Regions from separate parts of the Homo sapiens genome. Here regions 1 and 2 are each linked to region 3. Evidence: promoter capture Hi-C in human tissues and cell types (Jung and others, 2019). All regions are on one chromosome and are shown on one strand. Each heading gives the region's core, a stretch centred on a gene start or on the middle of the fragment in contact. The rest is flanking DNA. Distances are from core to core; before and after follow the strand shown.

Region 1 (2,700 bases), core at 11-2,510, 310 kb before region 3:
GGGACACTTCCCATCCCAGCGGGAGAGGAGCAGCTGTGCGCAGGGCACTCACCCAGGCCATTCTGGCATAGGAGCCAGGAGAAACCCATTCTCAGGACTGGGCACAGGGGCACAGGGGCACAGGGGCTGTGCTGGGCTTGAAGGCCCATCAACCTTCCACCAGCTGGCTGAGGAAAAGGCCCAACTCAATTAAGGGTGTTCAACTCAATTAAGTCTCTCAAAGGGGCTGTCTGGCATCCTCTAGTAGGGGGGCTTCCCGTGGGGAAACAACGGCCAAGGGATGTAGGAGCCACTAGGACAGGCTCCATGCTCAGCCTGGAGCTCCTACCCACCTCTGCCTGACACACTGCCCACCCTCCTTTCCTGTGCTGTTCCATTTCCTTTCAGAAAACTTTGTTTTGGTTTGATATTCGCCTCCGGGCCTCAGAGAATTTTCTGAGTTTTGTTTCTCTCCTTGTTTCTAGGATACCTGAGCTGGCTCCCAAAGCAACAGGCACAGGAGGAACAAGAGCGTGGGGGCTGGGGGCAGTGTAAGGATGATCAGATAAGAAAAGCAGGGAGACAAGGAGGGAGGTGAAGAACCTGCTTGTGCTCACACAGAATCTGGTGGCCCCCAACATCACAGCAGCACATCAGGGAGTTCTAGAACACAGCAAAACTCAAACACCCAGAAAAGAAGCCATTTGCACAGACAACTTCAAGTTCTAAGAAATCAAAAGGTCAGGGAACAGATTAGGGGCACTGCCCAGGGATGGCCTAAGCCAAGCATACACGCTTAGGAAACCTACTAGAGGTTCCATCAGGAAAGCCTGTACACCATCTGGAAGGATCATGACTCCCAGGCACATGCACTGGGCTGAGACCTGCTCATAAACATGCATAAGCACATGCCCTTAAAGGCCAGGCCTGGAGTCCAGGGGTGTGTGAGGAAGAAAGCGGGCAGGACTCCACACTCTCCAGGGCAGGGACACAGGTCTCAGCATGCACCAAGCAGCACCCCAAGGCCTTTTTTGCCTGTGCTACATCCAGCCCCAGCCCCACCTCCAACAAGAGGGAACCTGGCTTTCCCAGGCAGAGGCAAGAACAAGTGGAATTCCCCTGAGGCAGGCTGCACAAACTTATCCAGTAGAGAGGTCTTTCCATCAGCTTGCTTCTCTAGGGGAAAATGGAGCCTAGCCCAGCCTTTGCCAGGCAGAGCCCGTGTGGCTCCCACAGCACCCTTACTGCAGCCATTAAACACCAGAGGACCACTTGGGAGAGACACTGACCCCAAACCCAGGGGCAGAAGTCTCCCTTGCACAGACTGAGCTGCCCATAAATGGGGCTCTTCTCATTCAAAGGGCAGGTAGGCAGCTTAGAGGAAAAGCAATTTGTTAAAAATAAGCAGAAAGTGGCCGGGCACAGTGGCTCACACCTGTAATCCCAGCACTTTGGGAGGCCAATGTGGGCAGATCACCTAAGGTCGGGAGTTTGAGACCAGCCTGACCAACATGGAGAAACCCCATCTCTACTAAAAATACAAAATTAGCTGGGCATGATGGCGCATGCCTGTAATCCCAGCTACTCTGGAGGCTGAGGCAGGAGAATTGCTTGAACCCAGGAGGCGGAGGTTGCGGTGAGCTGAGATCGTGCCATTGCACTCCAGCCTGGGCAAGAAGAATGAAACTCTGTCTCAAAAAAAAACAGTGTGGTCTCCCCCTACTCTGTGCCATTTTAACAATCAGAGCTCTACAGTCATACTACTTGGGTTAGAACCCCATTACACACACTAGCTATGTTACCTCAAGCAAACTCCTTAACCCTTTTGGTTTTTTTAAGAGGCAGGGTTTCACTGTGTCACCCAAGCTGGAGTGCAATGGCACGATCATAGTTCACTGCAGCCTTCACCTCCTGGGCTCAAGCAATCCTCCTGCCTCAGCCTCCCCAGTTGCTAGGACTACAGGCACATGCCACCATACCCAGCTAATTTTTTTTATTTTTACTTTTTGGTAGAGACAGGGTTCTCACTATGTTGCCCAGGCTGGTTTCAAATTCTTGGTCTCAAGCAATCCTCCCACCTTGGCTTCCCAAAGCCACTGCACCCTGCCTGCTTAACCTTTTTTTTTTTTTTTTTTTTTTGAGATGGAGTCTTGCTCAGCCGCTCAGGCTGGAGTGCAGTGGCACGATCTCGGCTCACTGCAACCACCGTCTCCCAGGTTCAAGCGATTCTCCCAGCTCAGCCTCCCGAGTAACTGGGACTACCAGCACCCGCCATCACGCCAGGCTAATTTTTGTATTTTGCTAGAGACAAGATTTCACCATGTTGGCCAGGCTGGTCTTGAACTCCTGACCTCAGGTGATCCGCCCACCTTGCCCTCCCAAAGTGCTAGGATTATAGGCGTGAGCCACTGCACTTGGCCTGCTTGACCTCTTTGGATCTCAATTTCCTCCTCTAAAATATGAGGGTGATAATAGTTGCTCAGAGTATTAAATAATTCATATAAAGTGCTTAAAAAGTACCTGGCATAGAATAAGTACAGTCATACGTCACATAATAACATTTTGGTCAACAGCGAAGGGCATGTATGACAGTAGTCCCGTAAGATTATAATGGAGCTAAAATATTCCTGTCACTTAGTGACATCTTGATGATCCTGACCCTATGTAGTTCTATGCGCTAGGCTAATGTGTGTGTTTGTGTCTTTGTTTTTAACAAAAAAG
Region 2 (2,700 bases), core at 105-2,604, 280 kb before region 3:
AACTCTGACTAGGTGTTTTAGCATATTTCTTTCTGCCACTACAGTCTTACATAACCCCAGCTGTTACGTTAACACCTGCAGCTACATTAGTCACAGCTTAGCCCTTCACAAGGTATGTGTTCCTACTGTCCTCTCCCAAGAAGGGAAACTGAGTCATAGCATATCAACTGGCTTCCCAAGCACATGCTTAGTGTATAGTGAGGCCACAATTGAACCCAGGTGGTCTTCCTACTATTCACCTTTTCTCATGGATGAATCTCAGCATGCCCACCCCTGCTGCTCTTTTTCCTTCAACCTAAAACCAAATCATTGCCTGCAGAGATCATATGTGATCCTTTAGAGTCAACAAGGGCTTCTAGTTATCTTTCCCAAGAAACAGGAAGGTTAACGAGGAACATGGAGCAGGAGAGGGTGGGTTTGGAAAGAGGTGGATCCCAACAGGACTCACCTTGGAGCTGAGGTCCTCTCGTCGGTTTCCTGCCTTACTCCTGCGCAGTTTGATGGATGGAGATCTCAACAGATTCTTGATCCGGCTGGTAATGGTTGACCCTTCCACAGCCATTATGACGAGAAACCCTTTGGGACAGTCCCCGGCCCAGTCCTGGGTCTTGTCTCAACAGCGGCACTGTCTTCCCACTCCAGAGGGCTTCCCAGTATGCCCTCTCACTGACCTGAGATGGCAGAAGCCACCTTAGTATCACAGTGTCTTACCTTCTGCCTAGCGAAGTCTGCAGCTTTTACCTCTGGGTATTGCTCTCACCATTTCCCTCATCCCCACCTTCTAGCCCTGCACAGTTTCTTACAACGTCGGAAGGAAAGGCTCACGAAAAAGGGGGGGAAAATCCTAAGCCACGAAGAAATGCCAGGCCCACGCCCGCCAGAGGCGTTTAACTGGCGAGATGGATGGGATGGGCCCCAGTTGGTCTCGTGGACGATCTGGTTCCCGTTAATGCCCAACTGTTCCCATGGCAACTGTAGTGTCCAAGGGAGGAGGCCGCCGAGACCACCAGGGATTTCCGCAGGCCTGGACACCTGCGCTAGCGCCGGCGGGGACGCGGCGGGGCTCGCCGTAGCCCACAACTCGTTCTGCCACGGGAGCCTCCCTCCCCCACTCCCTATCCTCCAGAGCTCGCTCTCCGCCCTCCACAGCGGCTCTGGACCTTTATCTTTCACCCGCCTCTGAGGCCCCTGCTACTCGTCAGCGCCCCCGTTCGGGCCCAGCCTCACCAGCCTCGGCGAGCTAAGGCCACCCCGCTCACAGCGCCCTCGGGCATCGCGTTCGGCAATTTCAGCTCCGCCGCGGTAGCCGCAGCGGTAGAGGCAGCAGCAGGAGCTATGGTGGCACGATCGGCTCAAAACGCGAACTACCGCCTGGGCCAAGCCGCGGGCTGGGTGGGCGGAGCCGACGCGAGGGGCGCGGCCTGTAGTCAGGAGAGCGCTTCCAGAGTGGACGAGCAAGGTTTACGGGGGCGGAGCCAATGAAAGGGCCCAGGAAGCAGACGGCTTGGGACTAGGGAACCACGGAATCCGCACAATTGCGGGTACCGCTTTTAGAGGAAGGTCAACAGAACATGGCTTCAGAATTGAGAGAACCAAGCCTTTTATGGTATTATCAGGCCTGGTCCCCCATGGAACTGCACTTCCCAGAGCCCCAAGACGATAACCACGCCTCCAGGGTGTTAAGGTTGTCATCTGATAGGCCCGAGGGACCGTAGCTGAAACTCCTAGCTCAGAATTACAAGACTGAGCTACAGCCTAAAAGCTCTGCTCCCAGCGACCACAAGTGTTGAGATTTAAAGCGACTGAAGTAGTTTCTGCTCGCAGCCAGTCCGGCACGTAGACTCAACGTGGAAAGGATTATTCTGAGTAATGCAATTTAATAGCTAAGAACAGTATTTTTGCACTGGGCAACCTGGTCATCATGAAAGGGGAAAGGGTGGCCTTGAACAGAGCTTTGGGCGTGCGGGGGAAAGAGAAGTGAATATGCTATGTTATAATACTTTAGGTTTCATGGCTTCTTTAGCCTCCAACATCCCATTGTGCTTCCTCACCTAAAGCTGACCAGGACTTTGTTGCTCCAGATCTTTTCCTCATTCCATTTACTTATGAATCCTTTTATCTAGGGCTGTTCCTTGCTGAGGTCACTGTCGAGCTTGCTGATACTAGATCGAGGGGTAGTTTTCTAACTCATGTCGGGGGAGGCAGAGGGAATACACGGAAATGTTACATGAAATAGTATTTCCTGAGTATTCTCCACTTGACTACTACCACAAGAAATCACCTTATGAAAAAGCCTAAGCCAGAGACTTGGGTCCCAAGGGAATAGTACACTGGTGTGTCCGTCTCACCCTATCCAGATCTTTTGAATCCCTGTGGAGATGACATGTGTCTGCAAGAGGGAAGAACCTCTAACAAATTATTATACCTTATGAAAAAGCCTAAGCCAAAGACAAGGGACCCAAGGGAGTACTACACTGGTGTGTCTGTCTCACCCTATCCAGATCTTTTGAAACCCTGTGGAGATGACATGTGATAACAAGAGGGAAGAACCCCTAAACTCATTGCTTGTGTACAACGGTGAGCCTTTAGAGCCAAGTGGCAAAGCACATATTTTCTTGTGTATACTGTAGCCACGTACTGAAAATTAGATTTGTAAAGCTCACAAGTTGACATGGAGATGATGGATGTCACCTCCTGGAG
Region 3 (2,700 bases), core at 55-2,554:
TTAACAGTGCCCAGGGCTGTGTTTTCCGAGGGTCAGACCTGGTCCCAGAACACCCAGGCTATCAGAGGCAGAGACTAGCAGAGTGATCCTGCCCCCTTGCAGCCTCAGTTTACCGCCCCTCTCTGCCGCGCTCAGGAGCGGCGAGCCGGGAAGATGGGAGGCAGGGCGCGCACTGGGTGGGCTGCGTTCCGCTCCCAGCCAGAGCTCCCAGGCCCACGCCCCTCCCTCCCCTGCGTCCACGCCTCGTGCGGGCGCTGGGAGCAGACGGCAGCGGCTCCCGAGCAGAGCCTGGAGCGCCGCTCCACTCCCACTCAGGAGAGGGAAACCGTGGCAACGGCGGGGGTGCGGCCGCGGCACCGGAGAGGGGGCGGGGGGTAAGGGAAACTCTCCTTCGCCTCTCTCCTTCCGAGGGTTCACCCGGCAAGGCTCAGCCCCTCCGATCCCTCCTGTCCTAACCCACAGCCAACAAGGTCCGCTACCCCCGCTTCGCCCAGTCCCCGCGGCGGGTCGCCTGCTCCTCGCCCCGCTTCTTAGACGCCCCAGGGCCAGCGCCACGACCCGCCGGCGGAGCCGAGGTGAAAGTTGCCCAGGCGAGAGGTCGGCCAGGCGCCTCCCTCTGACCCCCAGATTCCTCCTAAACCGCGAGAACAGGACCTTCCGCTGGAGGGAGCATGGACAGGAGCGGGTCCTCCGGGAGCACCCAGCCAGGTCCCCCGTGCAGCCCCCGCGCCCGGCGCTGGCCCCGCCCCCGCGGCCCGTACCTGACCCACGTCCTCGCCCGCTTCCAGCTGCACGTTGCCGCGGCTCCGGCTCTCACTGTCGCTCAGCAGGTCGTCCTCCGAGTCCTCGAGCAGCGACGAGGAGCCAGTGGAGGAGACCGACGAGGTGGAAAGGCGGCGCGGCTGCTGCAGGTGCGAAGAGCCCGCTGCCGGGAGGCAGTCCCTCTCCCGCTCCGGCGGCCCAGGGCTGGTCGGGGGCACGTCGGGCTCCTCGGCTGTCACGGTCAGCTGAGGGATCACCGGGGCCGGGGGAGCCCGCGGAAGCCCGTTGGGGACCTGTCCCCCACGCCGCTTGGCCCCGCGGGCCCGGGGCTCCCCCGCGGCGGCGGCCGCAGCGACCGCCGCACAGCGCGCCTCGAAGAGCAGGCGCAGCTCCCCGACACTCCGGCGCGGGGCCCGCTCCAGCCCCGGGCTGCAGGGCCTCGCGCCCCCCGGCCGCGCCATGCCCGTTGGGCCCCCGGGCAGGGTCATTTCCCAGTGCCGGCGCCGCCGCTGAGCCCACCAGCCCGCGGCGCGCCGGGGACTGGAGCGGCTCGGCGCCCCCGGCTGGAGACGGCCCCGGGGCGGAGCCTGCGCCGCTGCACGCCCGCGCCCCGCCTCGGCCGCGCCCCCCGCCCACTCCTTCCACTTTCAGAGAAAGCGCGGGCCTCCCAGGGCCCCTGCGAGGGAGAGAAGGCTCTCGGTGACTCCTCGGGGTGGCGGGGAAGTCCAGCCTCCGTAGGCACAAAACCTGGGCCCGGGCCCCGAGGCTTCGCTCCGCCTGCCCTCGGGGAGGTGGGAGGGGCCGCTCCGCGCTGGGGCCTCGCAGCCTTCCCGGGCTTCGCGGCTGGGAGAGATTCCTCCAGGCCGCTCCACAGGCCCTGTCCCCGCGCAGGAGAAGCTGGTCCTACTCTTGGTCCCCTACCCCGTTCCTCGGGTTCCTTTGCGTGTTCATCCCTCCCGGGCAAGGGCTTCAAGTCTCGGGGCCTTTCTCCGGCCCGAGCTCCTGAGCAGAGTTGAAGGCCCCCGGCTTCCCGAAGAAGCCCCACCCCAGGGCGTGCACCCAAGTGGAGACTCTGCCCCAGGGACTAGCTGAGGCTGCTCCCCGCAAGTTCCCCACTTCCCGGCGGGCAGAGAACAAGGTCAGGGGGCGGGGCCTGGATCTGTCCCCATGGCCCAGCCTAGTCCCGGGCTGCATCTCCCCCGCTGCTGGGTGGCAGGAGCTGAGCCCGCCTTCCTCCTCCTCTGTTATAGGAGCTCGGGGCTTGGAGTCCGCCGTGTGGCGTTCAGCAAGTCATTTCACCTCCCTCGACTGCGGATTCTCCCGTTGCTGCGAGAATAAAATAAAAGACTTGAAATCAGGTACACCACACTCTAGATGTGATTTGTAGGCAGTCCCTTTACTCCCTCCGTATATTTCTGCATTTGTACATTTAGAAAAACCTCATCCAACCCACAGAGTTGTGTCTGTAAAACTAGGAAGACAGCACTGATGTTTAAGAGTTTCAGACACTGCAAAGTGCTTATCAGTGTCATTCCATGTGGATCTTCGGCCACTTCCCATGTTGGTAGTCAGCTGACCGACCGGCGAGGCTGCTTTGAGGAGAAGCCACTGTTTCCTATCTTACCATAGTGCCACAGGAGTGAGGGTCCCCCCTCAGGCACTCAGTGTCTGGGGATGGCTGGGGCCCTGGAGACAGAGCAGCCCCAGAAGGATTGCCTTGGATGCTGAGATGGCCGCAGGAGGGGCTTTCCTTCCCTTCTCTCCCCTCAGCCAGGGCTCAGGAATGGCCCAGGAGAAGGAAAGAAGAAGGTTCAGTGGGAAGACGGGAATCTTCGGCAAAGCATAGTGGCTCAGGCTTGTAACCCCAGCACTTTGGGAGGGCAAGGCGGGCAGATTGCTTGATCCCAGGAGTTCGAGACCAGCCTGGGCAACATGGCA

The links. Contacts are between HindIII fragments. The study calls those that stand out against the background at their distance.
Region 1: a fragment that was not itself captured here is called in contact with the fragment with the promoter of ITPKA in region 3 in 4 of the 25 tissues and cell types used here (adrenal gland, dorsolateral prefrontal cortex, lymphoblastoid cells and 1 more).
Region 2: a contact is called between the fragment with the promoter of MAPKBP1 here and the fragment with the promoter of ITPKA in region 3, in 5 of the 25 tissues and cell types used here (IMR-90 fibroblasts, adrenal gland, mesenchymal stem cells and 2 more).

What each region holds. Positions count from the first base shown.
Region 1 is chr15:41,802,832-41,805,531 of GRCh38, reverse strand. All of the region lies in intron 3 of MAPKBP1 (mitogen-activated protein kinase binding protein 1), which reads right to left. Among named protein-coding and RNA genes, the nearest start is that of JMJD7, 24 kb to the left of the region's middle. The HindIII fragment of the contact is 5,645 bases long and covers 1-2,700 here.
Region 2 is chr15:41,773,138-41,775,837 of GRCh38, reverse strand. MAPKBP1 (mitogen-activated protein kinase binding protein 1) reads right to left here and starts at 1,354. Exons shown (of 31, transcript NM_014994.3): 1 at 1,228-1,354; 2 at 449-671. The coding sequence starts at 562. RefSeq lists an enhancer at 1,858-1,907. The HindIII fragment of the contact is 12,032 bases long and covers 1-2,700 here.
Region 3 is chr15:41,492,478-41,495,177 of GRCh38, reverse strand. It overlaps ITPKA (inositol-trisphosphate 3-kinase A), which reads right to left and starts at 1,304. Exons shown (of 7, transcript NM_002220.3): 1 at 762-1,304. The coding sequence starts at 1,250. RefSeq lists silencers at 685-734, 845-1,024, 1,045-1,664 and enhancers at 1,401-1,901, 1,902-2,402. The HindIII fragment of the contact is 23,030 bases long and covers 1-2,700 here.